Linked DNA regions of Homo sapiens: all the other regions are linked to region 2. Evidence: promoter capture Hi-C in 16 types of primary human blood cells and fetal thymus (Javierre and others, 2016). All regions are on one chromosome and are shown on one strand. Each heading gives the region's core, a stretch centred on a gene start or on the middle of the fragment in contact. The rest is flanking DNA. Distances are from core to core; before and after follow the strand shown.

The links. The method cuts DNA at HindIII sites, captures the fragments that hold promoters and counts their contacts. A CHiCAGO score of 5 or more calls a contact.
Region 1: a fragment that was not itself captured here is called in contact with the fragment with the promoter of ADAM12 in region 2 in 2 of 17 cell types (M0 macrophages and M1 macrophages); the score reaches 5.1 in M0 macrophages.
Region 3: a contact is called between a fragment that was not itself captured here and the fragment with the promoter of ADAM12 in region 2, in 5 of 17 cell types (M1 macrophages, M2 macrophages, endothelial precursors and 2 more). The highest score is 9.5, in M1 macrophages.

What each region holds. Positions count from the first base shown.
Region 1 is chr10:126,005,954-126,009,534 of GRCh38, reverse strand. It overlaps FANK1 (fibronectin type III and ankyrin repeat domains 1), which reads right to left. Exons shown (of 11, transcript NM_145235.5): 8 at 985-1,128; 9 at 404-481; 10 at 269-313; 11 at 1-162. The coding sequence ends at 97. Among named protein-coding and RNA genes, the nearest start is that of FANK1-AS1, 34 kb to the right of the region's middle. The HindIII fragment of the contact is 4,731 bases long and covers 1-3,581 here.
Region 2 is chr10:126,386,038-126,389,822 of GRCh38, reverse strand. ADAM12 (ADAM metallopeptidase domain 12) reads left to right here and starts at 1,346. Exons shown (of 23, transcript NM_001288973.2): 1 at 1,346-1,765. The coding sequence starts at 1,678. The HindIII fragment of the contact is 6,902 bases long and covers 903-3,785 here.
Region 3 is chr10:125,955,544-125,959,257 of GRCh38, reverse strand. All of the region lies in intron 1 of FANK1 (fibronectin type III and ankyrin repeat domains 1), which reads right to left. It also overlaps the pseudogene GNG10P1. Among named protein-coding and RNA genes, the nearest start is that of FANK1-AS1, 16 kb to the left of the region's middle. The HindIII fragment of the contact is 1,341 bases long and covers 1,748-3,088 here.

The DNA of each region.
Region 1 (3,581 bases), core at 253-2,752, 380 kb after region 2:
TGTACAGCCCCCCAAGATGCAGAATTTCCCATCCCTAGTTTAACAGTCACGGTTCACTTTGTTTTACGTGCGTTTCGCAGATGAGTGGTGCTCTCATCAGCAGACACAAGACTTCTTTGGCCTCTGCTTTTTTTTCCTTTCTTCTAATAAGGAGACTACACTCTAGATAAACAAAACAGACAGGCGAATGTAATCCAGGGTTTTGGTGGTTTTTCTGAGTCTAGAAGGACTAAAAATTAGCCTTGATAGGCAGAAAGAGCATCCCAACCTGTCTGTCAAAAACTCTGGCCATTTCTAGGACACCTTTGCCGAACTGAAACAGGAAACAACAAAAATTTTACATGCTTATAAATGTTTTCTCCCCCTCCGAGGAAAATCTTTACATAAAGATGGACTCATTTACCTCATTTTTTACACTTGCATCTGCCCCTTTGTCAAGAAGTAACTGAACTAACTCTTCATGATTATTTAACACAGCCACCTAGAAAACAAAACCCAGGGTGGTGTGCATGAGCTTCTCCCTCCAGGGCACACACAGCAGGGGGCATGAGCCTGGCACATGCAGGGTCCCAGCAGCCCCCCTGCAACCCCAAAAGACCACTGTGGCTTTGCATGGCCTGCAGGCACAGCGCTTCCTCTGCAGCTGTATGGTAGCAACTCCAGAGAAAATGGAAAATGGACTCCCTCTATCCACACTAAAACCAGAACAGAAAGCAGCTTGTTCTTTGTTTCACCAGTTCTGTTTTGATCCCACAGTGGTCCTGGGGACAGGGGTTCTTTAGTCCTTAAATAGTTGTAAAAAGACAACGAAAGTATTCTAGTGACAGCCTCATGCCCTTATGAACAAGCCGACAGGGAACACACACACACAGTCAAACCCAAGGGCTGGTGCAGGGCTGAACTCACAAGAATTGTCTAATTACAGAAAAAGCTCTGACATTAATTCCACGTAGAAAACTGCCTATTTTCGGGAGGAGGACCTACCATAAGGGGCGTCTTTCCATTTCTGTCCTTCACATTCACATTGGCCCCAGCATCAATTAGAAGAGAGGCCACCCTCTGATTTCCCGACACCGCAGAGACTCTCATGAGTGGGGTCCATCCTGAACCAGTGTCCACGACGTCTACCTGTTGGGCCAGAGAAACAGCTGTGTTGAGCCCAATTTCTTTTTCTTAAAATGATTCAAACTTATAAAAGGAATATTTGCTTGCCCCAACACCCGGACTTAGATAGCCGTCTTTCTATATTTGGTTCATTGCACTGTGCTAATTTAAGTCACATTTTGGTGCTGAGAGGCCCCAGGGTCTCCCCACCGGCTTCTTCATCTACATCCTTTAAAGTGGAAAAAAGATGGGCTAGAAAAGTTAACTGAACTACTTTCCACTTGGCCCCTGGGGAGTTCTTATTTTCTCTTGCCTAACTTTCCTCACCTAGCATTCATTTTTCTTACTTTTATGTATTGTTGTAAGCAGCTTTACATCCTTTCTGGAACAAGACAGTAATAATATATATACACACTTATACTTACTAATACTTATCAATTTTAGGCAGGAGACCTACAGGTAAAATACAGAACAACCAGATTCATTACACAAACTCTGTCTGAAAAGTCTGACTAAAGGCTTCTCCAAAACAGTGTGCCCAGTAATCAGATGGCTGTTTCCTGATCATCTTCTCTACACTGAAATCTCTCAATTTAGTGTTTTAAAATAAATATTTTAGATTAAGAAAATGTAAATATTGTCGCTTCCAATTCCAATGAAGACATCGCCAATCCATGAAGAGTGGTGCTGAAGTAAAGACAGATACGTGTTTGTGCTCAGACACGCACACACACTCGTGTGTGCACACACGCATACCATGTGCACATAAGCACACATGAGCACGTGCACGCACACACACAATCTGTTACAGAAGAATTACTCAAAGATGATCCATAGCTTTAGTAAAACATCAGAATGGAAAAACAAACAAGGAATTTCCAGGAGATCTTGGGAGCACTTCAGGGTATTTCTACATATAAGATTATCCACTGTAACATGATTTGGATTTGCAGCTCTTCTTCATGCAAAGAACTAACCTGTGGGCAACACACTCCATTATATTTAAAGAATAATAAAATAAGCACCTCATATTACATGATGCTTTACACAGCTTTCAACCCTCTTTACACACACTTTCTCTTTTGGTCCTAAACGTTAATCAGAGGTAGGTATTTTTATTCTTGGTTTACAAACAATCAAAATAAACCTCAGAGAAGTGCCTTTCCTGAGATCACATGGATCATTAAATGCACAAATGAATAAGTCAGTCGCCAAGTAAATAAGTCACTCTTAGTATATGATCATTACATTTGGGAAGAAGGTGGTGATTGGCTCTCAAGTCCTTCCCATGGGCTTCAGAAGCATCAGGTGAGCCACCTGCCAGAATATGGAAAGACTCATGTTGACATCATCCATCCGCCACCAGGCCAGTCATGTGGAAATCTATAGTAAACACATCCATGCTTATTGTTCTGTCCTCTGCAAAGTAGTTCCAGTGCTTCAAAGAAAGATGGAATTTATCCCAAATAAGTATATTCATATCTGAAGCCCAGAGAGCCTACATTTCCAAAACTCCAGTATTTAAATGTTGATAGCAGAGATTTGCCCTATTGTGAATGATTTATTTATTTGAGATGGAGTCTCACTCTGTCACCCAGGCTGGAGTGCAGTGGCACAATCTTGGCTCACTGCAACCTCCACCTCCTGGGTTCAAGCAATTCTCCTGCTTCAGCCTCCCTAATAGCTGGGATTACAGGTGCCCACCACCACGCCTGGCTAATTTTTGTATTTTTAGTAGAGACAGGGTTTCACCATGTTGGCCAGGTTGGTCTCAAACTCCTGACCTCAAGTGATCCACCCGCCTTGGCCTCCCAAAGTGCTGGGATTACAGGCATAAGCCACTGTGCCCGGCCCCGATGCTTGACTTCTTTCAGCAAAGTACAACCTTCTTTTTCAACCACAGACTTTCACTAGGTGCAAAACCTGCCCAGAATTCATCATAAACCAATCAAGGAGTGTGTGGCTGTCACTACCACACATGGCACGTGGGCCCGGCTCTACTATGGAAGCCCACTGACTCAGCCTTCTGCCTCTGTGCCTGTCTCTAAAACATAAGGAAAATAAGAAATGTAATAAATTTTTAATGACTGAGATTTTTCCTATAAGGGGGCACTTTTCTTAATTCTCCAAAAGCAGCAGCAGGAACCAGATAGATCCCATAACTGCAGTCTCACTTTCCCTCAATTACCCTTCAGAAACAAACTAGAAGAAATCTACTGACATCTTCCAGGAGACATGACTTTTCTCAATTTGAGTTGATTTTCCAGGTCATCGACTTAATTTCTCAGCACTCTACACACCATCTGGCAGTCACAGATAGCACAGAACTTTGTCCATCATTCTTTAGTTCCATGCTTTGAAATTTTTAGCTAATTTCTTCAAAGTCTTGAAATAAAGTTTTCAAAGTTACCAGCAATTTCCATAATTGATCTAATTCTAATTACCCATCTTCAAATATCTATAGACGTCCAACAACA
Region 2 (3,785 bases), core at 97-2,596:
TGACACAGGGCTTGAACCAGGCCTGGTTTCCAGATCTGGTACTGAGATATGGCAGCATTGGGAAGGGGGCTGGAGAGCCTGTGCTTCCCACTAAGGTTTTTTAAAAAGAAAGTCCTGCACCTTGTTAGGAGGATCGACCTGGGTTTTGGGAACACTGCAAAACCTGCCGTGGGAGGGAACTCCTGAGAAAACTCCTCTGCAGTGGGAAGAGATGGTATGGAAGGCAGCTTCCTCAAATGCTGGATAACCGCCTCCTAGGAGTGGGTGCTCCGTCAGGAATCGGTGCGAGGTCGCAGGACCAGGATGGAATTTCTGCAGGTGGTCCTAGGTCTGAGCAGCACAGTAGAATCACCTGAGGCTTTGAAAACTATTGAGCTCCACGCATTGTGGGAAACTGAGTTAACTGGTGTCTGGGGCTGGCAATGTCTTTAACTCTTACTATTCTAATAAGTCCCCAAGGTTGGGAATCATGGTAACCCGCAGGGTGGGCATCAGCCATCCTCCATAGCTCCAGCCATTTCTGTCTGTGCGGGCCCCCTCGCTGCTGCTTTTCATGGTCTCCCTGAGGGCCGAGCGAGGCTGAAGAGGTGGGGTCAGCCCGGAACAAGGATGAGAAGGCAAGGCGCACCATTCTTTCATTGGTGTTTCTCCAAACACCCTGGGCTCCCCTGGCCTCACAGCCTGGAGAGTCTCATTCTGAAAGCGTAGGAGGGCGCCCGGGAATCTTTTTAACAAGCCAACCCAGGTGCTTCTTACAATCAGGAAAGTTTGGGGAACGTCACTGTACACCCTTTTCTGGGTCCAGGTCATGGAATGGAAACGTGAGCCAATCTATCAACGTAAAACCTAACACTGTTGATCAAAAGTAACGCCCAGGTGTCTTGTGCCTGCGAGTCCAAGCTTGTTTCTCGGGCGAGAGATGCCCCTTTGGGCGCTTAGGGCCGGGCGGGGTCGCGCGCCGGGCTGTGGGCCGCGGTGGAGACCTGACCCGCACTCCGAGGGTTCCCAGAGAGCCGGGGAGCGAGTAGCAGAGTCATCGTTTCCAGCTTCAGCCTGAAAAGCTGGACCGTGCCGCCGCATGTGCGCTTGGCAGCCGGGCGCCCCGGGCCCTGCGGCCACATCATCCTGGGGCGGGGACGTGTGCGCTCCGGGCGCCCGGACGCCACTGAGCCACGTCTGAGCCGCCCACCCTCGGGGGTGAGCGAGCCGCGGCTCGGGGCGGGACCCTGGCGGGGGGACCCGAGCGGTCTCTAGGACCCGCGGGACGCCGCCAACTGGCGGGGGTGCGGGGGAGACAATAATTTGTTCCGCGGTAATAAGAACGGTGACTGCTGGCCGTGGATCCATTTCACAGGCCTGCCTTCTCTCACTAACGCTCTTCCTAGTCCCCGGGCCAACTCGGACAGTTTGCTCATTTATTGCAACGGTCAAGGCTGGCTTGTGCCAGAACGGCGCGCGCGCGCGCACGCACGCACACACACGGGGGGAAACTTTTTTAAAAATGAAAGGCTAGAAGAGCTCAGCGGCGGCGCGGGCGCTGCGCGAGGGCTCCGGAGCTGACTCGCCGAGGCAGGAAATCCCTCCGGTCGCGACGCCCGGCCCCGGCTCGGCGCCCGCGTGGGATGGTGCAGCGCTCGCCGCCGGGCCCGAGAGCTGCTGCACTGAAGGCCGGCGACGATGGCAGCGCGCCCGCTGCCCGTGTCCCCCGCCCGCGCCCTCCTGCTCGCCCTGGCCGGTGCTCTGCTCGCGCCCTGCGAGGCCCGAGGTAAGTCGCCGAACTAGGGCGGCTCGCTGCCCGCCCCGCCGAGGGCACCGCACGCTGCGCCTGGGCGCGCCGAGGTCCAGGGCTGCCCCGAGGGGCGACGCGCCCCGGCGCATCTCCGGAGCCCCGGGGCTTGCGCTTCCAGCGCGGCGAGACCGACCCCCCCCCCCCAGGTGCCAATTCCTTGGGGAAGGGCGACACTTGGCCCGCAGCCCCACAGGAGCCAGTACCTGCCCCGGAGGGCACAGCCTCGGGACCGCTCCCCCGTCCTCACCCTCTTGGGTGACATTTGCAGATGTCTCTGTATCTTGACATTTACACGTGTCACTCGGGACGATGCGTGTCGGGTCCTCTTGCTGGCCCTATCCCGCAGTGAATATCCCCACCCCAGGCTCCGGGCCAGCCCTTCACCAGGTTTCCTTTCCAGCCCCGCCTCCCCCGCTAACACACTTAGGGGGGCGCGCAGCGGCCCCGCAGGTGAGGCAGCCCCCTCCTCCGCAGGTGTGCCTGCTGCTCTCCACAGCAGGCTCTATTTTCATAAACTGACTCTCTTACCTACTTCTTTAGTTTCCTCTCTGCCCCTCTTCCTGGCTTCCAGGTCACTCCCTAGCTGTCAGTCGCAGGCAAACTTTAGCGGAATTCTCCCTCCTTCCTCCACTCAGTTTCTCCGCCGTAAATAATCGCCCCCATCAACTTGGTGCACAGCGAGAACTTACTTAGTTTAACGTACTTAGTTTTACAGACTTAGGTTTTCCCGAGTTGTAGCCCCTTAAAATCGGGCACCTGTGGCTCCCGTTTGCACAGTGAGGACTCACCCAGCAGGTGCCTTTTTAAAAATCCGGCAACTTCCCCGGGTCTCCGCCGCCGCCGCCTTCTTTCTGCCGCCCGGGGCGCTGTCGGTCCACCGATGAACGACTTCCCTTGGCCGCAAGCTCTCAAGTTCTGTGATTCTATATAACAGGCATTTATTTTTCAACAACTGGCCTAAATCACGAACCGTTACCACTTTATGATACGTTTTATTTTGCGATTGCCACTGCTGCCCTCCGCCCCCACCGCGTCTACTGTAATGTGGCTAAAACCCAGTTCTTGTTAAAAGCCACACTGCGAAGACCAATTCGGGGATAAATGATTAAATACAAAGATTGCACAAAGCAATGAGAAAGTCAAGAAAGAATCCTGCTGAGGGTTTAAAGAACTCTACGACCTGTAGTGAATTGTGCTTTGAAAGACTTTTAAACAAATTGGTCCTTTTGAATGTTTATTAAGAAAGAACTTTTTAAAAAACGGAAAGTGTCTCAAAGTGTGCCTGACATGGTCTTTAACTTGGCACGTGCTTTGTACACATAAAGAGAAGTCTACTGAGCAGGGACAAATTTTTTTTTTGGAAGAAAATGTTTATTAAATCCAGCTAATAATGGGAAATTATTTCTTGTGTGTGTGGGCGGGGGAGGACTTTTACTATTTTATGAGTTCAGCTTTGGTAGAGAGAGTGTTTCCTTAAGACAGATATGACCCAAAATAGAAAACCAGGGAGGCCTAAGCACTTTGAATGGGTTACCTATTGTGATATATTCCAGGATTCACTGCTTGTTTACCCTTAGATTCTCAGTATCAAGTCTTCAATCAATCAGTGCCCCAAATCATACCATTGAGGCCGTATAAAACGCCAAACATATAATGAAACATTTCTTTGCATTGGCAAGAGAAAAGGAGGAATTACTACCTGTTGAGTCTGAGCATATTCTGAGTTTCTCCCTAGCCTTGTCTGTACCCTGAGCCCTGGCACAGTTGCCTACTTGGTACTTTCTGGGGCAACTCGGCCTAACAAGTCCAAAACAGAACCCTAGATCCCAGACTCTCTAGTTGCAAATCATTCCCTCCCCAGCCTTCCTGAACCCAGTAACAACCTCCTCTGCCTTCTCCACATGCCTTGTGCTGACATGCAGGAAGTCATCCCTGTGTCCCTCTTTTTACTCCGTAAGCCACCAACCTCCTAAGTATATTCCCACCTACCCACTTC
Region 3 (3,714 bases), core at 1,169-3,668, 430 kb after region 2:
TTTGTGTGTGTGTGTGGATTTTTAGTAGAGGCAGGGTTTTACCATGTTGGCCAGGCTGGTCTCGAACTCCTGACCTCAAGCAATCCACACACCTTGGCCTCCCAAAGTGCTGGGATTACAGGCATGAGCCACCATGCTCGGCCTATTTCATGTCTTAAGAAATGTTTAAATATGACTCGAAGAACATTGTAAATAGTTAAAAACAAAGTAATGTAAAATACTACAACCTAAAATAATTCTTAATGTCACAAGTGTTTTATTTATTTTGATGCCGTGCCTTTGATTTGATTTGGGGCTTTCAGAAGACAACTTTGTGTTTGCAATAATCTTTAAAGAGCTTGGAAATAAAATTTCTGCTTAATTCAAAAAAATTAATTCCTCTGATCCATGAGCATGGGATGTCTTTCCATTTGTTTGTATTCTCAAACTATGCAACTTAAATATAGGCAAATGATCTAAAGACATTTCTCAAAAGAAGACAAACAAATGGCCAAGAAATATATTTTTTAAATGCTCAACATTATTAATTATAAAGGGAAATGCAACTCTAAATCACAGTGAGGTATCACCTCACTGGAGGATGGCTATTATCAAAAGACAAAATAACAAATGCTAGTGAGGATGTAGAGAAAAGGGAACTCTTAAACACTCTTGGTGGGAATGTAAAGTAGTATAGCCGCTATGGAAAACAGTATGGAGGTTCCTCAAAAAACTACAAAAGGCTTGGCATGGTGGCTCATGCCTGTAATCCCAGCACCTTAGGAGGCCAAGGCTGGCCAATCACTTGAGACCAGGAGTTCGAGACCTAGCCTGGCCAACATGGCGAAACCCCGTAAGACATGCCTGCTTCCTCTTTCACCCTGATTGTAAGTTTCCTGAGGCCTCTTCAGCCATGCAGAACTATGAATCAATTAAGCCTCTTTTTAAATTACCCAGTCTCGGGCAGTTCTTCATAGCAATGTGAAAACAGACTAATACAGAAGCTAAAAAAAATGTTGATCACACAGAAGTAAAAAAGAGAACAGAGGATACTAGAGGCTGGGAAGGGTAAAGGGAGCAGAGAGATAGGAAGAGGTTTGCTAAAGGATACAAAATTACAGCTAGATAGGAGGAATTAGTTCTAGAGTTCTACAGTACTGTAGAATGACTATAGTTAACAGTAATACATAGTTTCAAATAGCTAGAAAGAGAATATTTAATGTTCACCCTCCCAAAATAATGTTCCAGACGATATGCTAATTACCCTGATGCGATCACTGTACACTTTATGCACCAAAACATCACTATATACCCCATAAATATGGGCCAAAAAAGTCAATTAAAAATGTAAAAGAAACCAATTTTTTAAATATTAAAAAAAAAGTACTCAGAAGGAAAGTGTGTCAAACTAGAACTCTTTACCTAGTGACATTATCTTTAAAAAATAAAGGCAAGGCCGGGCATGGTGGCTCACGCCTATAACCTCAGCACTTTGGGAGGCCAAGGCGAAGGGATTACCTGAGGCCAGGAGTTTGCGACCAGCATGGACAACATGGTAAAATCCCATCTCTACTAAAAGTACAAAAATCAGCCGGGTGTGGTGCCGGGTGCCTGTAGTCCCAGCTTCTCGGGAGGCTGAGGCATGAGAATTGCTTGAATTTGGGAGATGGAGGTTGCAGTGAGTGGAGATCATGCCAGCACACTCCAGCCTGGGCAACAGAGCAAGACTCCGTCTCAAAAAAATAAAAATAAAGGCAAAATAAAAGCTTAACATAAACCAAGCTGAGAGAGCTCATCGCTAATACACCTGAACCATACAAAATGTTAAAGGAAGTTCCTCAGGCAGAAGAGAAACCATACAAGATACAAATCTGGATCTACACAAAGTAACAAAGAGCCCTAACAAAGGCAAGTATGTGGGTAAATATAAAATATGTTGTCTGCCTACAACAAAAATAACAACGTTTTGTGAGGTTAATAGGATATGCAAAAGCAACATAGAGGATAACAACAGCACAGAGTCTGGGGCCTGGAAGAATACTGTCGTAAGGTTCTTGTGCATAACATCAAGCAGTGGGGTATTATTTGAAGGAAGATTGTGATATGTTAAAGATGTCTACAGTAAGCCAGGTGCGGTGGCTCACGCCTGTAATCCCAGCACTTTGGGAGGCCAAGGCAGGCAGATCACAAGGTCAGGAGATCGTGACCATCCTAGCTAACATGGTGAAACCCCGTCTCTACTAAAAATAGAAAACAGCCGGGTGTGCTGGCACACACCTGTAGTCCCGGCTAGCTATTCGGGAGGCTGAGGCAGGAGAATCGCTTGAACCCGGGAGGGTGATGGGGAGGTTGCAGTGAGCTGAGATCGCGCCATTGCACTCCTGCCTGGACAACAGAGCGAGATTGTCACTGTACATTAGAAGCCTATACTACCCCGAACTCGCCCTTATTATACAAATCTATAATGAGTTTTACGTTTTTCCTGGTTATTAAAATCATCTTCCTTCTGGCTTGTCGGATATTCTCCTAAATGGCCTGAGCGAGTCCCTTCATGGTCACCATCATTGCTAAATAAACACACTCACAGGTTACCACACAATGATCTAACTCTTATGACCACTAAACTATAATTTTAATTTTAAACTGCCTAACTATAAAATTACTTTCTACTATTAAAAACCTATACAATAAATATATTACATTTCATGTACCTGTGGTATATTTTCTGTAAAACCAAAGAATCTTTGGTGAAAAGTTAAAAATTCCAACTTGATCTGAAGTGGGAAAGCAATAAAGATAAAAATTATTCATGCTCATACATAATAAATCTGCCTGCTCCTTCCCATTTTCTATACCAATATAACTTGCATTATATTTGGAGGCTTAACATTAGAGCTTGGAGGCAAGGGATATCTCCAATAAATCATATTTTCTGTACAATCTTTAAGACAGCCTTTGATTTTTTGCTTTTCCAAAGTGAAGTGCTCAATAAACATCACTTTGAATCTCCTTTCAAATATATTCAATCCTCATCCTGGTTGTTTCCTCCCTTTACCCCCACCACCGCCCCCCCCCCAAAAAATGTATCATAGAAGTACTGGTTTAAGCTTCAAGAGTAGATCGTGTGTAAATCACCTGCATCCTTGCTAGGCAGAACGCCTTTCAGCCAAACTGTGATACAGCAAAATTCTTTATCTCAATCCCCATTTTCCTCCTGATTCTGACTTTAAAATGGAAGTGGGAATGTGGGCTTAAATGCCCCCCACCTCCCATCACATCCAGGATAATGAGTCATAGTTCCGTTGACTAGAAGTCTTTCAAAACATTAAGTTCTTTTCATTTTCCTTGAACATGATATATCCTCCCCAACCCTGCTTCCTTCCACTGCCTTAGAACATAGATTCTTTTGTACTTGGAAGGAACTTGATTTGTTTTGGAGCTGAATAATCACTTGAGATGAAGCATACAACTGAGATCTTATTAAAACTTCATTTAAAAATAAGATGGGGCCAGGCACAGTGGCTCACACCTGTAATCCCAGCACTTTGAGAGGGTGAGGCATGAGAATTGCTTGAGCCTCAGAGTTTGAGAACAGACTGAGAAACATGGCGAAAATCTGCTGCGACAAAAGTTAGCTGGGTGTGGTGGCATACACCTGTAGTCCCAGCTACTTGGGAGGTTGAGGTGGGAGGATCTCTTGAGCCTGGGAGGTCAAGGCTGCAGTGAGTCATGATC